3 separate regions of the Homo sapiens genome follow, and regions 1 and 2 are each linked to region 3. Evidence: promoter capture Hi-C in 16 types of primary human blood cells and fetal thymus (Javierre and others, 2016). All regions are on one chromosome and are shown on one strand. The core of a region is centred on a gene start or on the middle of the fragment in contact, and the rest is flanking DNA. Distances in the headings are between cores, read along the strand shown. Region 1 overlaps CGNL1 (cingulin like 1). Region 2 overlaps CGNL1 (cingulin like 1). Region 3 holds the start of TCF12 (transcription factor 12).

Region 1 (2,700 bases), core at 16-2,515, 620 kb before region 3:
TTTAGTATCCACTGTTTTCTATTGTTAGTTATCAATTTTTTAGGTCTGACCCATCTCCTCAAACAAACTGTAGCAACTCAAGGTCAGGGACCATTTCTGGTCCTCTTGGAGCTTTACTGCAATGCCATGCACACAGCAGGTATTCATCATATTTTGCAGGCACGGGTAGATAGAGCACTGCCTTGGAAATTGAGACCTAAGCCCAGCTCTGCAGTCAATTGCCTGCATGACTGTGGTCAAATCACCAGGTGACTCTGGGCCTCAAATCTCTCATCCATTACAGTGAAGTGGGGAGAGTTGGACTCTGAGGTCCTTGCCAGATCTAACAGTCTATGAGAGGGGTTGGCCATTCACTAATATTGCTGGAAAACCTTTTTTGTGGCTTATTCACTTAAGTCCCATCACTAAGACTAGTGGGAGATGTTTGGGGGAAGCAAAGATTCCGCAAAGGAGCTTGTGAGAATTCAGAGTTTAAGGAGAAAGCTGTTAAGTTTGAACCTTTTAATTTAAAGAGAACAAGATCACCAAACTAAAATATCCCATGCATTCTCTTTTCAGTGCCTAGTAGCAGTTTGCTAGGAAGGCAGGGCCGATGTTATTACTTGGGTTCAAGATAACAAGCACCCTTTCCTGTTTTTAGGAGATGTCCTTGTTAAGGAGATGTCATAAGGTCAGCATTTGATGGGGGAGAGGAAAAGCGGCCTTACGTTTTGAAGTTTCCCTTTTCTGGCTTTGATTTCAGCAGGAAAGCACAGGCACACGGCCCTAGAAGTTAATCTAAGTGGACCAGAAGAGCTCAGAATCAGGGCCCATCTGTCTATACCCAAGGCCCTCCCCAGAGAGCCTTCATTTCAAGAGGCAGGAAATAAGCCTTGGCTCAACCTCAACTTTGAATGAGAATGAGATGCTTTCCAGGGAGGCGGGTATTTGGCCCACCCATTTCTCTGCCCTCCCTCACAAGTCAGGAGGCAGCAAAGGCCAGAAGAGAAGCTCTCAGAACACAATCAGGAGACATCAGCGTTTCTGTTTCATTGGCTTACCAATTCCTACGTCCATGTGAATGTGCTCAATTTCTCCACTTATAACAAACACCAGGCTATACCCTCCCTATCTCAGATGATGCAGTGAGAAGAAAGAAAACAGAAGAGGGAAAGAGAGCTGGTAGGGAAAGAGGTTATAGACATTGGTGGAACTCATCTTTTTAGGCATGTAACTCAGATACAGGGAGAGAATTGGGGGAAAGTAAAGGGTGAGTCAGACGCTTCTGGATGTATGAAACCTTCTTGCAGCATTGCAATGTTAGAATTCAGAAGAGCCTTCAGAGATCACCTGGATCAATGACTTCCTTTTGATAGATTTTAGAGACTGAGCTCAGAGAGGCTGGGACTCTCCCAGAGGTAAATGAGGCTAATGCAGGAGCCAGGACTGGGACTGCCAGCCCACTGCTCTCCCCAGCAGACCAAGTGAGTTCCCTTAACTTCCTCCCTGGACTTACTTCAAGTCCTTGGTTCCCTTAACTTCCCCCCTAAACTGACATCAAGTTCTTGGCTTAGTGGAAATATTTTTAGCCTTGACCACATCATGGACAGCAGTTCTATTCCCCATGATCCAAGTGCTCAGTTGAAAGGAAAAAGAAGTGTCCAGAGCAATTCTGGGACCAGATCTCTGCATGATCAGTTCTGTCAGTGTTGGGCTGTCAGCTGAGCTAAGGGAAGCAGACACGTTCTGGTTCAATGTCTGTGTTTTGTTTCTGATATAAACATGGAACTGAAGGTCTGTTGTAACGGCCTCATTACTGATAGGATGACAGGCTTTCCCACTATTCCTCTTAGCATAAGCCACAAGAAGCGCTGGCAAAACAAATCCATGGTCACATCCTTTGTCATTGTGAATGTTTAGCGGATCCTGACATGTCTGGGGGGAACGTCGCTACTTAGCCAGGCTGGCAGGGGCTCATCACAAAACAGCTTTTATTCCAGTGAGAGAACTTAGAAAACAAAGTCTTCAGTAACAACCCTGGCGGGCAGTAGAGGAGATGTCAAGGTTGAGCTCTCTATCTGGGCCTCTGATTTTCAGGAAGGTCCCTCTCTAAACCTGTGCAGCTCTGGCCTGATAAGCTGTTGCAGCTCCAGATAAATCATAGCCTGGGAACACGCAGACAGAACCCACTCTCCATGAGGAGGGTGGAGGGAACACAGCTGGGTTGCAACTTTCTTCACTCTCAGGAGCAAAGGAGCATGAGTATCCCACTTGTTTGCAAAGAAATCTATCAACAGGGACCTAAAAGAATACGGAAAAGCAGCCAGGGATTCACGTTCTACTTTGAGCAGGGCTGCCTGCTCATAAGGTGCTATCCCCAAGCTCTGGAACTTCCAATTCTTGGTCACCCTGAACCGAGGAAAGGGAAGTCCATGTGAATAAGCAGAAGAGACCAGAGGAAAGTGCCCTTTGGAATAGGGAAGATTTGAAAAAGAAGACAAAAACATAAGGCAGAAAGTGGAAGTTTCCCAAGTGGTTATGAATAACAATCTATTGGCCATAGAGGGAAAAGTGCCTTTTAGGGCTGAGGCTCTAAGGGTCATTAGTTCAACAAGCAAGTGTGTGGAATGTGGTAGCCAGCACCATGTTAGGTGCAACAGAAAGTAGGCTCTACGATGCAGCCTTTTCCTTGACAAGTTAATTAGCAGTACACACACCTAT
Region 2 (2,700 bases), core at 128-2,627, 600 kb before region 3:
TGCTATTCTTATCGCCATCTTAAATATGAGGAAACTGACACTTGGATAGTTTAAGTAACTTGTCCAAGATCACTTAGGAGGAACTGCATTCGGGCAGGCTGAATCCAGAACCTGTCCTCATAACCCTCGCTTTCTGACATGTCCACTTCCCTGCCCCATTTGCATGGGCAGGGTCTCTTTTTCTTTCTTTTTTTTTTTTTTTTTTTTTTTGAGACAGAGTCTCGCTCTGTCCCCCAGGCTGGAGTGCAGTGGCGCGATGTCGGCTCACTGCAAGCTCCGCCTCCTGGGTTCACACCATTCTCCTGCTTCAGCCTCCCGAGTAGCTGGGACTACAGGCGCCCGCCACCACGCCTGGCTAATTTTTTTATATTTTTAGTAGAGACGGGGTTTCACCATGTTAGCCAGGATGGTCTCGATCTCCTGAGCTCATCATCTGTCTGCCTCGGCCTCCCAAAGTGCTGGGATTACAGGTGTGAGCCACCACACCCGGCCCAGGGTCTTTAATAGAAGCTCTTGAGGAAGGGCAGCTTCGGAGTACAGATTTTTTTCATGTCCAATATAAAACAGAAATTTAAATTAGCTTAAATTAGGATACAGTTCACAGTGTAAGCTCTAGGTATGCTGCACACAATCCACAACAGAAAGGAATGACAATCTCAGGGTGGTTATTGTTGATTCCAGAGGTCACAGGGGCTTTGTATTCTTCGGTTTAGCAATTTGAAGTGATGGGAAATGGTCCTGCCCCACATTCCACCTCTCCAGGCAGATCTCTTACCTGTCCTCCATTTCTCCACTACTACAAAGATGCCAATATCAGCAAATCTCATGCCTACAACACAATGCTACAGACGCCTGCGATAAAAGAAAGGCCCAGGGAGGACAAGGTTAGGCTTTTAAAGGCTGTATCACCGACCATGTGGGAGAAGTATCTGCTAGAACTGCTCACTTATATAGCCTGTTGGAAAGATCTTTACTTCTCTTAACAGTACAGTAAGCTTATTATCCTGAACCTAACCAGTTAGAGAATTTCAGGAACCAGAGCATCCTTTCATGGCCCAAAGGTTTAATTCTATACAACAGAGAAAGCCCATCGGAGCCAAGCAACTGAGTTAGAATGAAGTTAGCTGGCGTTGCTAGGAGAAAACTAAGGTGTCAGACAGCTGAGACTTCTCAGGTCTATCAGGATATCGTCTCCTAATGAAACCAGCAAGAGGACATGTCACAAAAATATACAGAGGAGAAATAAAGTGTGGTTGAAAACTTGAGGAAGGATCTAAAGAATCTAGTAACTGGTCAGACCAGGGAAAGAAAAAGTCTAGATTGCCCACTTCTGCCCTAACTCTCCTATTAACATGTGAGACAAAGTTACAGTTATCAAGACAGGGCAGTACTGGCATGAGGGAAGGCATATAAATCAATGAAACAGAATTGGGAGTTCAGACATAAACCCCTACATGTATAGCCAACTGCTTTTCAACAAGGGTGCCAAGACAATTCAATGGGGGAAAGAATAGCCTTCAACAAATGGTGCCACTACAACTGGATATCCACATGAAAAAGAAATGAAGTTAGACATCTTCCTCATACCATACACAAAAGTTAACTCAAAATGGATCATAGGCCCAAATGTAGGATCTAAAACTATAAAACTCTTAAAACACAGAAACAAGTATTTGTGACCTTGGGTTAGGCAAAGGCTACTTAGCTACAACACCAAAAGTACAAGTGACAAAAGAACGAACAGATAAATTAAGCTTCTTCAAAATTTAAAACTTTTGTGCTGCAAATGATGCCACCAAGAAAGTCAAAAGACAACGACCAGAATGAAAGGAAATAAAAGTCATATATCTAATGAAGGACTCATATCCAGAATATATAAATGATTCTTTAACTCAGTAACAAAAAGACTTAAAAATGGGGCCAGGTGCGGTGGGTTACGTCATAGTCTCTGCACTTTAAGAGGCCCAGGCAGGCGGATCACTTGTGGTCAGAAGTTCAAGACCAGCCTGGCCAACATGATAAAACCCCATCTCTACTAAAAATACAAAAATCAGCCAGGTGTGGTGGTGCACACCTGTAATCCCAGCTAATTGGGATGCTGAGGCGAGAGAATTGTTTGAACTCGGGAGGCAGAGATTGCAGTGAGCCGAGATGGGACCACTGCACTCCAACTTGGGTGACAGAGCAAGACTCCATCTCAAAAAATAAATAAATAAACAATGGGGAAAGGATCCGAACAGTATATAAAATCCAACATGCATATGAAAACATATTCAACATCATTAGTCATTAGGGAAATGCAAATTAAAACCATAATGAGATACCACTCCACATCCACTAGGATAGCTATAATAAAAAAGAAAGATAATAACAAGTATTGGGGAGAGTTTAGAGGAATTAGACCACTTATACATTGCTGGTAGGAATGTAAAATGGTGCAGCTACTTTGGAAAACAGTTTGCCAGTTCCTCAAAATGTTACACAGAGTTACGGTAGGACCTAGCAATTTCACTCCTTGCTATATAGCTAAGAGAAATAAAAACAAGGGACCGGGCACAGTGACTCAAGCCTGTAATCCCAGCACTTTGGGAGGCCGAGGCGGGCAGATCACCTGAGGTCAGGAGTTTGAGACCAGCCTGGCCAACATGGTGAAACCGCATCTTTACTAAAAATACAAAAAATTAGCCAGGCATGGTAGCA
Region 3 (2,700 bases), core at 44-2,543:
ATGCGTTGTTGCTGGGGATTCATCTTCGGCCACTTCTAGCAGGTCCTAGGGCAGAGGAAACGGGCTCAGCGAGAGACCACCGAGGCCCAAAGTGTGTGAGGGAACAGAGAGAGGTACTGGGGAAGATTACGCAAGAGCGCTGGGGGCGCCGGGATGACTTCCAGGACCCCGACTCGCTCCCACCGCGGCGCGAGCAAGGGGCGGGAGGGCTCAGTGCCCGCGCCGGGTCCCGGAATCCACGCGTTCCTCGCCGCGGCCCGAGATCGACGCGGCGGCTCCCGCAACTCGCCGCCTCTCCCCCAAGTTTCCGAGCCAGTCTCTGCCACCTCCTCGGCGCCCCCTGCTCCGCGCCGCCGCCGGGTGCTCCGCGCGCCGGGCCCGGCCGCGGCTGGGGTCTCGAGGAGCGGGGTGAGGGGCAATTCGGCGTCCAGCGAGCGGAGCGGCGGCGAGCGGAGATGCGAAGTGACTCACTCGCTCGGCAACAATAGAACTGACAAGTTGCAGGGAACGCGCCGCTCGCAGGCCCGCGTCTGCGGCCGCCGCCGCCCGGACGTCCCCGGCGGGCCCAGGAGGTCGGAAAGCACCCCCAGCTCATCCAAGGGGCGTTTTTAAACAGAAAACAGAAACCCCGACAACTAGTCTCGCTCTCGGCCGGCGTCCTCCTCCCCAGGCTCGGCCTCCTCCCACTTTTGCTGCCCTGCCCCGGACCTGCCGAACAATGAGCCTGGCTCCGCGGCCGAAGCCGCCCGATCTCCCGCGCGCCCCGGAGCCTGGGCGCCGGCCCGAGTCGGGCACCGAACGGGGCGCACAGGCCGAGCGCGCCGCCAGCGGGCCTGAGCGCCCGCGACTCGAGCCTCCGCCCCCACTCCGCTCCCCAACTTGGAGGGGACCCCGGGTTTCGCGCTGTACAAAGGGGCGCGGAGTTGAGGCGGGGGACGGGGGCGCCCCCACTCCGGCAGGGACGCGGCGGCGCCCCGCAGCCCCCAGCCCCGCCGCGCCGCCCCACTCCCGCTCGCTAGCCCGCAATTACCTGCCGCCCCGTCTCCGCATCCAACCACCCCGATTAAAGTTCACTTTGGCCGGGAGAACGGGCTTGGGCTTCCCCTTGCACCGCCCAGCGGCTCGGTTCACTTTGCCCCGCACGAGCTCTCGGGTCTGGGAGGGGGAGGCGGCTTTCGGGCCTGGCCGCCCCTTCCTCCCGGGGCGGGCTGTCGGTCCCCCCGAATAGAACTTGTGGGTCTCTTCAGGCGGACATTTTTTTCGCTGAGGCGGCCTCACCACCGCGCTCGGCTCGCCTCCGGATCCCTCCGCGCCGGGAAGAGCCGCGGGTTAACCCTTCCCTCCCCGACCCGCTCCGCCGCCTAGGAAGTGGGGCCGGCAGAGGGGGCGGGGAGGAGCTGTCGGGGACTGGGAGGAGCCGCACCGCGGCGGGTGGACAAAGCCCGCGGTCGGGTGAGGCGGGACGGAGTTGGGGCCGGTGGGGAGGGGCATGAGGCGCTCGCAGGCACCTCGAGAAGCAGGCCCCGACCGCTCGCCGACGAAGCCTCGTCCGGGCCTCCTGGGAGCGGGGTGGCAGGTACCGTGGCGCCTCCTCGCGTTGGTCTTGCTGGTTCTCGGCCCCCGAAGCGGAGCGACGGAGACACAGCTGTGGAAGCATCTGGATCCGCTGCCCAGGTCCCCGAGCTTCCCGGAACCCGAGGCCGCAGGACACTGAAGGCTGCCATTCCCGAGTAGGTCACGCTGGACGCCACCCTAAGCTGGGCCCAGAGGCTCCCGTCCAGGAGGGCTGCAGTCGGCGCAGACACCGCGCGTGTGGAGACGGGAGACCCATCCTCCTCGGCCGTTCCGAGAGTAGGCGCGGCCGGTCAGATTCGATGCAGAGCCGAATGCGGGAGAAAGGGCAAAACGTACCTCAAACCAGACAAAGCCTTGTGAGCTTCAGGTTCTCAAATACCCCACTCACCCAGACCCCACATCTCCAGTCAGCCCCTCGCACCCAAATCCCATTCGGAGCAACCGAACTGCACGTGGGACTAGTTCTTGGGAATGGATCAAGCCAGTCTCTTCATCTAACGGAGACAGCCCTGGGTGGCTCTGTCACACAGCCACTGTCTTGTGCACAAGTTCTGAACTTGGCCTCAGAGAAGCCCCAGAGTAGAAAGAAGACAAAATAAGCCCCAGTTCTTCGATTCTGGGCTGAAGTGAGATTTTCTTGAATGGCAGCCATTGTTTTGCCTCTTAGGTAAGTGAGTGCAGTAAAGACCGGTAAGGCCCACGCAGAAGAAACACTGAGGAAAGAAGACACTTCCAAAGTAACAAATGGGAGGAAGCAGCCAACGCCCGAGGACAACATGGCAAGAAGGAGCCTTTGGATTCCGGACTGGGATGGAAAGAGAGGTAGATTCAGCTACCATATGCCATTACTGTAGTTAGTACAGTTGTCTCTATATCCGTGGGATTGGTTCCCAGACTCTGGATTTTCTAAGATGTTCAAGTCTCTTACATAAAAATGGTGTGTTTCCCCATATACTTTAAATCATATCTAGATTACTTATAAAACCTAATACAATGCAAATGCTATGTGAATAGTTGTTAAGGTGTATTTAGGAAATAATCATCCAAAGAAATCTCTATATTTTCAGTACATTTTCAGGCTATATTTTAGGCTCTATATTTTCATGTATTTTCAGGCCTGGTAAG

Evidence for each region. Contacts are between HindIII fragments. The CHiCAGO score rates a contact against its expected background, and 5 or more counts as called.
Region 1: a contact is called between a fragment that was not itself captured here and the fragment with the promoter of TCF12 in region 3, in 2 of 17 cell types (naive B cells and total B cells). The highest score is 6.9, in naive B cells.
Region 2: a contact is called between a fragment that was not itself captured here and the fragment with the promoter of TCF12 in region 3, in 2 of 17 cell types (total B cells and naive B cells). The highest score is 5.3, in total B cells.

What each region holds. Positions count from the first base shown.
Region 1 is chr15:57,532,674-57,535,373 of GRCh38, reverse strand. All of the region lies in intron 14 of CGNL1 (cingulin like 1), which reads right to left. Among named protein-coding and RNA genes, the nearest start is that of GCOM1, 58 kb to the left of the region's middle. The HindIII fragment of the contact is 7,611 bases long and covers 1-2,700 here.
Region 2 is chr15:57,513,669-57,516,368 of GRCh38, reverse strand. All of the region lies in intron 8 of CGNL1 (cingulin like 1), which reads right to left. Among named protein-coding and RNA genes, the nearest start is that of GCOM1, 77 kb to the left of the region's middle. The HindIII fragment of the contact is 759 bases long and covers 998-1,756 here.
Region 3 is chr15:56,917,237-56,919,936 of GRCh38, reverse strand. It overlaps TCF12 (transcription factor 12), which reads right to left and starts at 1,293. Exons shown (of 21, transcript NM_207037.2): 1 at 1,031-1,293; 2 at 1-45. The coding sequence starts at 23. It overlaps TCF12-DT (TCF12 divergent transcript), which reads left to right and starts at 1,438. Exons shown (of 4, transcript NR_015419.2): 1 at 1,438-2,397. RefSeq lists silencers at 254-693, 744-1,033, 1,124-1,173, 1,344-1,473, 1,994-2,133. The HindIII fragment of the contact is 11,533 bases long and covers 1-2,700 here.